Linked DNA regions of Homo sapiens: region 2 is linked to region 1. Evidence: promoter capture Hi-C in 16 types of primary human blood cells and fetal thymus (Javierre and others, 2016). All regions are on one chromosome and are shown on one strand. Each heading gives the region's core, a stretch centred on a gene start or on the middle of the fragment in contact. The rest is flanking DNA. Distances are from core to core; before and after follow the strand shown.

The links. The method cuts DNA at HindIII sites, captures the fragments that hold promoters and counts their contacts. A CHiCAGO score of 5 or more calls a contact.
Region 2: a fragment that was not itself captured here is called in contact with the fragment with the promoter of PLEKHG6 in region 1 in 1 of 17 cell types (M1 macrophages); the score reaches 7.0 in M1 macrophages.

Annotation. Positions count from the first base shown.
Region 1 is chr12:6,305,262-6,311,931 of GRCh38, reverse strand. PLEKHG6 (pleckstrin homology and RhoGEF domain containing G6) reads right to left here and starts at 1,250. Exons shown (of 16, transcript NM_001384598.1): 1 at 1,084-1,250. RefSeq lists a silencer at 1,304-1,353 and an enhancer at 1,716-2,436. The HindIII fragment of the contact is 5,964 bases long and covers 158-6,121 here.
Region 2 is chr12:6,135,386-6,142,416 of GRCh38, reverse strand. No RefSeq gene overlaps it. Among named protein-coding and RNA genes, the nearest start is that of VWF, 14 kb to the right of the region's middle. RefSeq lists an enhancer at 1-70. The HindIII fragment of the contact is 753 bases long and covers 1,805-2,557 here.

The sequences.
Region 1 (6,670 bases), core at 1-2,500:
CTCTCTCACATGTGTGCATATTTGGGGTACAAGCTCCTGCACTGGTCTCAAATGGGAACAAGGGTCACAGACAGGTCTCGGGCTTTCTGGATACACCCAGGTGGGAGGGTTCTCCTTGCACCTAGATATAACCCCATCCCCTTCCCCATATAAAGCTTGGGAAAAAGCTGGAGGGAGGCCATGGTGGGTGGGGTGGGCTGGGAGTGGGGGTGGCTGGAGACAGCCCAGTCTGCCACCAGTTTTTGTACAGCCTGTAAGCCTTTACATATTTACATAGTTGAAACAACTGCTGCCCCCCCTGCAAAAAAGCCACCAATATTTTGGGACAAGTAAATATTACATGATATTCAAATTCAGTGTCCATAAACACAGTTTTGTTGGAATCCATCCTCTTCTGCTGGTCTCCTAATAACCTGTGACTGCTTCTTGCTAGTTGGGACAGACGGTGTAGGCCGCGAAGTCTCTAATCTTTACTGTCTGGCCTTTACTGAAAGGCTTGCCCATCTCCTACCTGAACCCTCCTGACCACAGACAGGGAGGTGAGTGGGGCCAGCTGTCCGGCCACTGCCCTTAGAGACCAGCCAAATAGAATTAGAGTTTCTCCAGTTTCGGGCTATATATTTGGTCCTCCCCAGACTCTGGGAATACCACCATGGAGCTGGGGGCCAGGCGTGGGGCTCCATCCCTCCCCCCTAAACCTGGAGGGAGGGCCCGCCCTCGAGTGGGCAGGGCCTGGAAGAGGAGAGGCCTCCTAAGGGGCGGTGGGCTCAAGAAGGCTGCGCAGGTGTTTGTGCCCCGACCGGGTGGGCCTGAGGTCCTGCCTCAGCCCTCCCTTACCTTCCTCCGATTCAGGAGCAGAGGAGGAAACGTTCGCTGTCCCTCCTGCCGCCTCCCAATAGTCCTCCCTCTGAGGGCGCTGTCTCCCTCGCACTGCTCCCTACCCAGGGTCCTGTCTCAGCCCAGCCCCCGGCTCCCCTCCTCCCGCCTTCGGGAGGCCAGGCCTTCCTTCCCCTTCGCCCCGGCTTCCAGGCCCCGGGTCCCGGCCGCCCCGCCCCCGGGCCGCGTAGCCCTCCCGCCGCTCACCTGTGCCCACAGGTGTCACCGCACCCGCTGCCCTGCGCCGCCCTCCCCGCCCGCGGGGCTCCCCGTCGCCGTCGGCTCCCCGGCGATGCCAGCCAGCCCCGATGCCCAGCCTGGGACTGGGATCGAGCGGCCCGCGGGAGCCGGGCAGCGCGGGTCCGGGCGAGGAGGGCGGGGACCGGGCTGGCCCCTCCCTACCGCCAGCACCGCTCGGGGCAGAGGGGCAGAGGGGCGGGGCCCTGGGGACCGAGCAGCCCCCGCCCTCACGCAGCCACCGCCTTCCCCGGAGAGGACAGCTCACGTGGCGGTGCCCTCCTTTCCCCTTTTCGGTCGCACCTGAACTCGACACCCGCCGGCCGAGCGGGAGGGCTGGGACCGCGCGCCCTCCACTCCGGGCCAGACCCCCGCGAGGCGCTGCAGTAATGAGGGCTGAGTAAGGGGCGGGGCGCCGCCGGGGGAGGCGGCGAGGGTGACAACCTGTGGCAGGCACCCCTCTCTCCTGCTGGTCGCGGCGAGTGGCCGGCCGTCCGGTCCTCCCCCTGCCTCGGCCTAGACCCCTAAGCAGGCAGGGAGCCCGCCTGCCAGCTGGAGGGGCAGGGGGCCCCGTCGCTGTGTGGAGTCCAAAGTGTGAGCCTTATCTCTCAGAGGACCGGCTGGCCTGCCTGGTGGAAGGTGATACTGGAAGGCTATCCTGGACTTTGCCTTTGCTCCAGGGATAGGCAGCTGAGGCCTGACCCGCACTTCTCCTATGACCTAAGACTCAGGTGGGGGCACCCTCCCAGTTCACCTGCAAATAAGCCCACTCCCGGCTACACCAGGGTCACCCAGCCCTTGCGGTGGCTGCTAAAATAGATGCTGTGGGGCCAGGCGCGATGGCTCACGCCTGTAATCCCAACACTTTGGGAGGCCGAGGCGGGCGGATCACAAGGTCGGGAGATGGAGACCAGCCTGGCCAATATGGTGAAACCCCGACTCTACTAAAAATACAAAAATTAGCTGGGCATGGTGACGGGCGCCTGTAGTCCCAGCTACTTGGGAGGCTGAGGCGGGAGAATCGCTTGAACCTGGGAGGTGGAGGTTGCAGTGAGCCAAGACAGCACTACTGCACTCCAGCCTGGGCAACAGAGTGAAACTCCATCTCAAAAAAAAAAAAAAAAAAAAAGAAAGAAAAAGAAAAAGATGCTGTGGAAGGACTGACACATGCTGGGCATTGCATGAAAGGACCATACTTTATTTTCTTTATTTTTAAAATTTATTTTTTAAAAAGAAAATAGAGACAATATCTTGCTGTGTGGCCCAGGATGGACTCCAACTCCTGGGTTCAAGCGATCCTCCTGCTTCGGTTTCCCCACCTTTTCACTTCTCCAAATCATGGCACCTCGTCTGACAGAAGCACTGGATATTTGAGATAGAAGTGTCCTGTGGATGTGTGGTCATTATAATCTCACAACCATGAAACCCAAGACCCTGTAGTTGGCAGGTGGCAGGTCTGAGGCTCCCAGCCCCTCACCCTGACTGTGGTCTATTTCCTGCCAATGAACTCAACAGTGATTGATACGGCTCCTTACTTCTTCAGAGCATCCTGAAGTTCAGGAAACACTTTCAGAAGCAGAATCTCCTTGAGTTGCCAGGGGAAAAGGCCTCTATTCCCTTTTCCCATCTAGGCTATGAAACGCATACATGATCAGAGTGTTCTAGTCCTCACTCGGACTCTGGTGACTCTATTTTGTTTGGAGGAGGAATCTATATCTTTGGGCAGTTTCTAATTTTGTATTCCCTGTGTCCATCCTCAAATCTGCCCTCTGGGATTCTCTTTCTCTGAGCTTGCTGTTGTGTGATTGCTCTGCTGGTTCAGAAGTGTCCTCTGTTCCTCCAGCTCCTTGAACCAGCCTGTCTCCTGCTCCTGGCCCAGCTGGTGGTGGGACTAGTTTTCGGGGGTGAAGTCAGGTGGGAAAGGAACTGCAGTGGCAAGAAACCAGAGTGTGCCTAGTTCCTAGCCCTTCCCTCTTCCCATTCACTGTGTGTGTGTGTGTGTGTGTGTGTGTGTGTGTGTGTGTGTGTGTGTGTGTGTGTGGTGAGAGCTAGACAGAGATAGAGAGATGTCCAGGGATGACAAGAGTAGCCATGAGGGAAAGAGTTAATAAGCCAGGAGAGGAGGTGGTGATTACGGACAGTATTAAATGACACCCCAGAGACAGCTGGTGCCAATGGCCCCTAGCTTCTCCTCCCAGTGTCTCCCAGAAGGAGTGGGAAGGAGGAATAAGAGGGAAGATGAAATTGAGAGAGCACCAAAGACAAGCCTGGGCTTACAGTGCTCTGGGGTGAGCTGGCTAGAGGGGCCCAGTGGCAGGTGGTGGTGGGTGGCGGGGTGGTTAACCCTTTCACTTCCCTCTAGGCGTTGAGGTCCAGTCTCCACCCACTACTGCCCCAGGGCCTGTCTTCAGCCTCCCTGGGAGGAGAGGTTCCCAGGGCAAGCTGGAGTCTAGAAGCCAGAGGTGTGGCCGGGCACAGGTGTGTGGCCTAGGAGGCAGGCCTCCATGTTCTGTTTCTTCTCTTCTGTCACTCTCACAGTCTCCACTTCCATGACTCCTCTGTGCTGCGGAGAGCACACTCCTATGGCAGGCTGAGGGGAGCATTCTCAGGGAGCTGAATGAAATGTAAAGAATTGGGAGGCTGGAGGCTTGGCCTCTGCCAAGTGAGGCTAGGGGCCATCTGGTCCTTGGACCAGAGTATGCCATCTGGATACTTCTCTTTATTCCTGGTTATCCTAGCCTTTCCTCACATGTCTAGCTTGAGTCATATGCCTCACTTTCTCCCAGGTAAGATGCTCCTCATTAGGCCCCTGGATTGACCCCATAACTGATGGTAAAGTGTGTGTCCACGGTCAGAGCTCTGAGGATCAAATGCTTCTGTCCAATAGCAGCCTGAGGATAACTGCCTGGGGTTGGCATAAGGGGCTCACCAGGCAGGAAGGTCAGGGAAACTCATTTGTGCCTCGACCTCTGCTGAGCCCATATCTCTCAGGGCAGAAGTGGGGACCATCTGGGCTAATGAGGGGCTGGCAGGCACTAGCAACAGGAGGCAGCTAATGGGAGCTGTGTCCTCCCTGCCCAGAGCGAGGCAGAAACTGAGGGTTCAAGCTAGGAGGCGCCAGGTCATGTGAGGCAGATGAATACCAGGAGGACAGGCCACAGGGCAAAGCCTCTGGTGCCTCAGGCCAGAACTGGTGCTTCCCGTTTCTTCTTTCGTCCCCTCCCCCTTCCTTCCACATTTACTGGCAATGTGTAAGACAGTAGGAATATAGAAAAGAATAAGAGGCCCTGACTTCTAGGGGCTTACAGACTAGTGGGGAGGCAGATGGGCGAAAAGAACATTGATATTTAAGTTAGACCAAGAACGACTAAGTCAGGAGCTGTGGGAACACTTTGGAGGGACCGGTTACTACATAGGGGAGCCAGGGATGGCTTCTAGAGGAGGCGAGCTTTGTGTTGGGACTCGAAGGATGAGTAGCAGTCAGCTGGGCTGAGAAGGAGGAAAGGACATTTCTGGAGGAGGGAAGAGCATGTTTAAAAAGAAACTGGGGAAGGGCAGACTTCCCTAAAGGCCTCCTGAGGGTCTACCCTGTTGGCTCCCTGGGAATATCCCAGCTTCCGAGCCGAGGGTCTCTGGGTGGTGGCTTAGGAGGACGAACCTTCTTTGTGGCCTTCCAGGACCTCCGCAGTTTGACCTCAGTTATACTTCCCTACTCAATCCCTAGATGTGTCCCCATTCCCTGGGTCGGCCTCGACTTTCCTGACTCCATGCCTTTGCTCAAGCTGTTCCCCTCAGCTGGGTGCCTTGTCCTCCGACTCCACTTACCTCCTTCGAGGTCTTTCCTAGGACTGCCTCCTTCACGAAGCCTTTCCTAATAATCCCGCAGCCAGGCTGATCACTTTCCTCCCTGCTTGCAGCTGCCTTGACCGCTATGTTTCTTTAAAAGGCACCACTCTTGTTCTCCCTACTAAGTTGATATTAGCATGTGCCACCTATGCCTGAGGGCAGAGACCAGCCTAACACAAGACTGGCATGGTGTTTGGGAATTGAACTGGATTGACTTGCTAGAGGACCCAGACAGAATGACTTGCAGATAGACTGGCCTGTACTGTTCTGTCCCTACCCAAAGGAACCACATTTGCTTTTTAGATACCTGGAATTCTTCCATAATTTCAGTTTCCTTTCCTGCTTGATTACTGTAGCATCAGGACATCTGTGATGCACCTAAATGTTCCTCTCCATTAGGGCAAACATACCATGTAAGTTTACCTTGCAGGCCAATTCTTTTCTCTTTTTCTTTTTTTAAAATTCCAGATTCTCTCAGATCCTGAATTGCGGGCTAATTCTGATAGGTGGTGGGTTCCTGGAACATTAACTTAAGAAGGATTCTGTGGCTGGCTCAGCAGAAAGAATGCTAAGATGGCTTAGCAATGTCTGCCCCAGGGGAAAGAGGGCTCTTTCTGCCTTAGCGTGAGGTTTATCAGTCACTTGTCTTGCACTGAGCCAAGACTGGGACACTGAGAATGTAAGGCCTTTGCCTCTGTTGGAAGCTGATGGCGAAGGTGACTAGAAGACAATCGGGTGGATCTACCTTCTTGGGATTTACGGTGGCATATCTTCCAGTCAGATGTCTGGATGTCCAGGTCTGTGCTCCGAGGCACCCTTTTGACATGCGGCCCCAGAGAGGCTGTGGAATTTTTTTTCTTTTTTTGAGACAGGGTCTCACTCTGTCAACCAGACTGGAGTGCAGTAGCGCCATCACAGCTCTCTGCAGCCCAGACCTCCGAGGCTCCAGTGATCCTCGCATCTCAGCCTCCCGAGTAGCTGGGACCACAGGCACATGCCAACATGCCCTGTAGTGAACAGAACACTGGATGAACAGATGGGTGAACAGAATATTGATATGGAAGTTAGACATAGAAGGGATAAACTGGGAGCTGCAGGAACACTTTGGAAGGACCAGTTACTACATAGGGGAGCTAGGGATGGCTTCTAGAGGAGGCAAGCTTTGTGCTGGGACTTGAGGGATGAGTAGTAGTCGGCTGGGTAGAGAAGGAGGAAAAGGTGCTGGACCAAGAGCTGTGGAATCTTTTTTTTTTTCTTTTTCTTTTTGTTTGTTTGTTTGTTTTTGAGATGGAGTCTTGCTCTGTCGCCAGGCTGGAGTGTAGTGGTGGCGCAATCTCGGCTCACTGCAACCTCTGCCTCCCGGGTTCAAGCGATTCTCCTGCCTCAGCCTCCCAAGTAGCTGGAACTACAGTAGCGTGCCACCATGCCCAGCTAATTTTTGTGTTTTTAGTAGAGACGGGGTTTCACCATGTTGGCCAGGATGGTCTCGATCTCCTGACCTCGTGATTGGCCTGCCTCCGCCTCCCAAAGTGCTGGGATTACAGGCATGAGCCACTGTGCCCAGCCCATTTTGTGTCGGTTTCTACCTTAATTTTGCATTAATCATTTCTGCCTGCCTAAATGACGGATCTCTGCCTCCCTTACTGCTCCTGCACTTGTTGGTTTGTTGTTTTTAGAATACAAATGCACTGTGCAGGGCTCAGAGGCTTGG
Region 2 (7,031 bases), core at 932-3,431, 170 kb after region 1:
GCCCGGCGAGAAATCGAGCGCAGCGCCGGTGGGCCAGCACTGCTGGGGGACCCAGTACACCCTCCACAGCTGCTGGCCCGGGTGCTAAGTCCCTCATTGCCCGGGGCCAGCAGGGCTGGCCGGCTGCTCTGAGTGTGGGGCCCGCCAAGCCCACGCCCACCCGGAACTCCAGCTGACTCGCAAGCGCGGCACGCAGCCCTGCTTCCTGCTCGCGCCTCTCCCTCCACACCTCCCTGCAAGCTGAGGGAGCGGGCTCCAGCCTTGGCCAGCCCAGAAAGTGGCTCCCACAGTGCAGTGGGGGGCTGAAGGGCTCCTCAAATGCCGCCAAAGTGGGAGCCCAGGCAGGGGAGGTGCTGAGAGCAAGCAAGGGCTCTGAGGACTGCCAGCACGCTGTCACCTCTCAATACCTTAACTTGCAAGTAATTGAAAGTGGGTATATGTATGACTGTTGACCTGCCCCTGAGCTGGTGCTCTCAACACATTGCCTAGGGGTTAGCCCTGCTCTGCAGGAGTAGTCATAAAGTTGTCACACTGCTGCCTCCATAAAGCTGTTTTCTTCTACCACCAGCTGGCTCTTGAATTCTTTCCTGAGCAAAGCCAAGAATCTTCCAGGGCTAAGTCCCAATTTGGGAGCTTACTTGCCCTGCATCAGTGCAATCATAGCTCACTGCAGCCTGGAACTTCGGGGCTCAAGCAATCCTCCTGCCTGAGCCTCCTGAATAGCTAAGATGACAGATGTGTGCCACTACACCTGGCTAATTTTTTCTTTTTTTTGTAGACATGAGGTCTCACTTTGTTGCCTAGGCTGATCATTGTTTTTAAAATTTCTATCTTTACTGATTTTTATCTGCCTGACCTATGGATAATTGAGAAAGCCTTTTTGAAGTCAATTGTCAATTTATGTATTTTGAAGCTATTTTGTAAGATGCATATAAATTTGAGTTGCTGTAACTTTCTGCCTCTCAAATTAGAACCCCAGGTCTTGAGATAGTGATTCTGGGGTCAGGAATCCTGCTGTGCTACTACTGGGGCCAGGAATGCCACCAGATGTAATGGTCTGAGTTCTCTGTAGCTCGATAGCAGCAATAATGTGGTGTCATTGTTCCTGAGAACCAGGGAAGATGAGTCTGAAGCTGCACCATTCTTCTGACATTGTAGCGTGGGTGGGTCCTCTCTATTTTGATGATTGTGAAGGAAGTGAGCATGTTATTCTTGCACAAGATGTTTGTCTTTAGAAGAGAGGAAGTAGAGGAGGACAGCTTCCTCTCCGCTGGGGGCTACAGCTTTATGCTGGGAGCTGGTCGTCTGGCCTAAGAAATACTGCTGTGTTTATTTATTTGGCGCATACTGCCAAGAAAATTCTCTTTCCTGCAGAATTTACGTAAGAGAGATGCTACAAATATACAAAGAAAAGACAAAGATGGGTCCTCCTAGAAAACCTTTCCTCCCCTGAGGTTCTTTTGCTTTTGTACTAGTTACCTGGAGAACTTACTCCTCAGACAGGCAGAGGTCAATTTACCCATCCCCCTGCCTCTGAGCAGCCCTGCCCCATGCGCCCCCAGAGGTCACGCACCCTTCCCATTTGTACTTAATGCTGTTTACATCAGCCCAAGTTCTAATGGCTCTCATACTGTGGTCCTCAGGGATCCTTCTTCCTTGAGCCTCACAGCACTAATTGTCCTCTAACTTATTTGGCAAAGCTGCCTTGGGACACCCTCCATGAGGGCAAGGGAGCAGGTTGTGTGGCATGATATCTTGGCCTATATTAGTTTTCTATTGCTGCAGTGACAAATGACCACAAGCTTAGTGGCCTGAAACAACACAAATTTATCTTACAATTCGTAATTGTAAGAAGCTCGAATTGGATCAAAATCAAGGTGTGTTGGAAGAGCTGGATTCCTTCTGTAGGTTCTATGGGAGAACCTGTTCTTCGCCTCTATCCACTTCCAGGGGCACACATTCCTTGCCTCGTGGCCCCGCGTTGCATGACCTCTGCTCGCATCATCACATCTCCTTCCCTGATGCTGACCCTCCTGCTCCTCTTATAAAAACTCTTGTGATTATATCGGCCCAGCAGGATACTCTGGGGTAAGCCAGGATCATCTCCCCATCTCAAGACCCTTAACTTGCTCACATCTGCAAAATCCCTTTTGCCATGTAAGGTAGCATTCAGAGGTTTGAGATGGGATGTAGACATCTTTGGCTGTTCTTCTGCTACCGTAATGTGTTACGTGGTTGGCTGTATCTGCTCTTCTCTTGTCAAACCCATGGTCTCCTCCAGGCCCTCGTCTTCCCTGTCCGGGAAGGTTCCACCAACCACTAATGGATCTCCCTTTCTCCATCTGACCTCTCACAATACATGCCACTGCTGCCAGAGGGCCTCATCTGGTGTCACAGGATGAACATAAACCCCTACACTGGTTGAAGGTCCCTGAGGACTTGCCTCTTATTCCTCTCTTTGGTCTCTTTTCCTGTGAGTCTCCTTTATAGGCTGTAACAACTGGCTTATTCACCTACTTACTGATTTAGCATCTCAGAGCTTGCCTGCTTCTAAGCTTTTACTTCCTTCCTTGCAGCTGATGTGCCTTTGCCCTCATTTTCACCTGGCAAAATCCTACTCAGCAAATGGGTAATTAAACCATTGCAACCATTATAAACCATTGCAATTTTTCAGGGGGGCCATTTGGCCTTATTGTCAAAGGCCTCACTGAAAATGTGGACGGTGGCTGACCCAGTGCTCCACATGTAGGATTTCATCCTGTGGGAGTAATCCTGAGGGTTGTGCATGGATATAGCTTCAAAGATGTTCACTGCAGCATTGTTAATTAAAAAAAAAAAAAAGTAGGCCGGGAGTGGTGGCTCACGCCTGTAATCCCAGCACTTTGGGAGGCAGAGGCGGGCGGATCACGAGGTCAGGAGATTGAGGCCATCCTGGTTAACGCGGTGAAACCCTGTCTCTACTAAAAATACAAAAAATTAGCCGGGTGTAGTGGCGGGTGCCTGTAGTCCCAGCTACTCGGGAGGCTGAGGCAGGAGAATGGCATGAACCCAGGAGGTGGAGCTTGCAGTGAGCCGAGATTGCGCCACTGCACTCCAGCCTGGGTGACAGAGCGAGACTGCATCTCAAAAAAAAAAAAAAAAAAAAAAAAGTAGCACTAACCTAAATAAATATCCCATAATATGGAACTGGTTACATAAATTGTGGAATATCAGTAAGTGAACTATTCCAGCCAAGTGTGTTATACTCTGATAAAACAGACACTTGAGTGTTATTTAGAAATAGTGCCAGAGTGTCATATGAGTTACAGGCGCAGAATACCACATGGGAACGTGACCCCAGTCTGATGTCCCTGCCCCCTTGCAGAGCCATCCTGTGACTTTCACCGTGCAATTTCCCCAACCACAGTGACGAGTGCTATCTTCTGTGCTGATGATTTGGAGAGCAGGCAACAACTTCCTTGGGTATTAAGCAATTTTTTTTATCTGCAGTTTCAGTTCTGTAGCTACATTTTAATATTATATGCTAATTAACCCACATCATTGTTCTACTAGCAGGGAGTTCAACAGACATTTATGGAGCACTTACCATGTGCTATGCTCCAGACAGAGCACTTTGGAAGATACAGAGATGAGTAAGGCAAGGTCTTGTTCTAAGGAGAGCTCAGACTGGAGGAGATAAGACAAACAAAAATGCATGAAAAGGCTGGGAGCGGTGGCTCATGCCCATAATCCTAACACTTTGGGAGGACGAGGCGGGCAGATCACGAGGTCAGGAGATCAAGACCATCCTGGTAACACGGTGAAACCTCGTCTCTACTAAAAATATAAAAACAAAAAATTAGCTGAGTGTGGCGGTGGGCGTCTGTAGTCCCAGCTACTCGGGAGGCTGAGGTGGGAGAATGGCGTGAACCAGGGAGGCAGAGGTTGCAGTGAACCAAGATCGCGCCATTGCACTCCAGCCTGGGCAACAGAGCGAGACTCCGTCTCAAAAAAAAGAAAAATGCATGAAAAGATGAGAGGGCCACAGAAGCACCCAGAGGTGGTTCAAAGGCAGGAAAAGCGGGGGTGAAGGGTGGGAGGAAAGGAGAAAAGGCTTATGGAAGAGTTATAGGTATAGTGGAGAAAACACGGACTTTGTAATCAGGTAGATTCAGATGCTGGCTGCCTTTGGTAGCAGTGTGATCCTAGGCAAGGCCCTTACCCTGTCTGAGCCTCAGCATCCTCAACTATAAAATGAGAGTAACGCTCTCTTTCCCTCAAACGGTTGTTAGAAGGTACAGTGGATTGAATGGTGACCCCCAAAAGACATGTCCACATTCTAACTCCTGGACCCTGTGAATGTGACCTTACTTGGAAAAAGGCTTTTTGCAGATGTAATTAAGGATGTCAAGATAGATCACCCTAGATTACTAGATCCTTAGGCGGGGTGTGGTGGCTCACGCCTGTAATCCCAGCACTTTGGGAGGCCGAAGTGGGCAGATCACTTGAGGCCAGGAGTTTGAGACCAGACTGGCTAACATGGCAAAACCCTGTCTACTAAAAATACCAAAAAAAAAAAAAAAAAAAAAAAAGGCTGGGTGTGGTGGTGGTGCCTGTAATCCCAGCTACTCGGGAGGCTGAGGCAGGAGAATCACTTGAACCTCGGAGGTGAAGGCTGCAGTGAGTCAAGATTGTGCCACTGCAATCCAGCCTGGGTGATAGAGTGAGACTCCACCTTGACAAAAACAAAGAGGCTGGGTGCGGTGGCTCTCGCCTGTAATCCCAGCACTTTGGGAGGCTGAGGCGGGTGGATCACCTGAGGTCAGGAGTTCAAGACCAGTCTGGGCAACATGGTGAAACCCTGTCTCTACTAAAAATACAAAAATCCGCTGGGTGTGTTGGCACGTACCTGTAATCCTGGTTACCTGGAAGGCTGAGGCAAGAGAATCACTTGAGCCAGGTAGGCAGAGGTTGCAGTGAGCTGAGATTGCACCATTGCACTCCAGCCTGGGTGACAGTGAGACTCCGACTCAAACAAACAAAAAAACCAAAAAAAGATTACTAGGTCCTTCCAGATTACTTAGATTCAATGTCAGGTGTTCTTATAAGAAATATACAGTGGGAGACACACAGGGAGATGAGGAGAGAGCCATGTGAAGACAGAGGCTGAGATTAGAGTGATGCTGCCACAAGCCAAGGAAAGTCTGAAGCCACCAGAAGCTGGAAGAGGTGAGGAAGGTCTCTCCCTTACAGCCTTTGTGGACACCTTGATTTCAGACTTCTTCCTTTCAAAACTGTGGGAGAAGACATTTGTGCTGTTCTAAGCCACTCGGTTTGTGGTGATTTGTTACGGCAGCACTGGGACACTCACAGAGGAGGATGAAGTAACACAGTGTTCACAAGCAGCTAGCAGAGTATCTGGTACTTGCAAGGTGTTCACCAAATGACAAATTCTCCCTCTGCAGGAGGGGGACATGGAAGGATGAACAGGAGAGAGGAGGAGTGGGGAGGAGGCAGGACATTTGGATGGTGGAACAGTGTGAGCTGAACACAAGAGGTGTCTGGGAAGCAATGCCTCCGGGGACCAATCAGACATTCTGGGGTGCAGGGTGTGGGGTCAGGGTGGACGTGGGCGTGTGCTCAGCAAGGGTGCAGGAGGAAGGCACGTGTGCTGACTGTTGGATGGGAGGTTGGAGAAGAAGGGCCCACCGAAAGGGAAAGAGGCAGGCTGCTGGGGCTCCTCCTCGCCCTGGGGCCTTCCACCTGGGCTGCTCCTGCCTGGCCTCTAGTGCCTTGGTGCTCCTGGTGGAGCTGAAGCAGTGCTTGAGGCCATGCCAGAGGAAAGTCGCTGGGCTGCTGGTCATTAAAGGAGTCATAATGGGCTTGGGAAGAAGGAAGCAGCAAGTGGGATGGAGTGAAGATTTCAGATCCTTGAGTTTGTTTACTGAGCACCTGGTAACCCCCTGGATTCTTCTGTCAACCTGGCTATGAACATGTAATCAAGGATGGCAAGATAGATCATCCTAGATTACTAGATCCTTAGGTCAGGCATGGTGGCTCACACCTGTAATCCCAGCACTTTGGGAGGCCGAGGTGGGCGGATCACCTGAGATCAGGAGTTTGAGACCAGCTTGACCAACATAGTAAAACCCAGTCTTTATTAAAAAGTACAAAAGTTAGCTGGGTGTGGTGGCACATGCCTGTAATCTCAGCCACCTGGGAGGCTGAGGCAGGAGAATGGCGTGAACCTGGGAGGCGGAGCTTGCAGTGAGCCGAGATCTCGCCACCGCACTCCAGACTGGGTGACAGAGCAAGACTCCATATCAAAAAAAAAAAAAAAAAAAAGAAAAAGAAAAAGAACATGAGATGATTCCTCAAACTCCTGTACATCAAAAAACAAACAACAAAAAAAACCCTCATCAATATATATTAAAGTGAAGAACTGAAAAAAAAAATCCTCATATCAATGTGAGAAAACACTAACATTTTTAATCTTTAAAGAGCTTTTATAGATCAATATAGATAAGCATCTCAGTTAAAAATGAGCTAAAGACATGAACAAGAAATTCACAAAAGAAGAAATACACATCGACAATGTTAGAAAATGTTCTCCCAATAATGAAAGGAATGAGTATTAAAGTAACAATCTTTTTTTTTTTTTAAGACGGAGTCTTGCTCTGTCGCCCAGGCTGGAGTGCAGTGGCGTGATCTCAGCTCTCTGCAAGCTCCGCCTCCCGGGTTCACGCCATTCTCCTGCCTCAGCCTCCCGAGTAGCTGGGACTACAGGCGCCCGCCACCGTGCCCCGCTAATTTTTTTTGTATTTTTAGTAGAGACGGGGTTTCACCGTGGTCTCCATCTTCTGACCTCGTGATCCACCCACCTCAGCCTCCCAAAGTGCTGGGATTACAGGCGTGAACCATGGCGCCTGGCCTAAAGTAATAATCTTATAATAGTTTTTGCCACTTACATTACCAAATCTGTAATAAAAAATAATAATGCTATAGAAGGGTAAATTGGTAAAGTTCTTGGGAGGATATATAAAAGGCTTAAT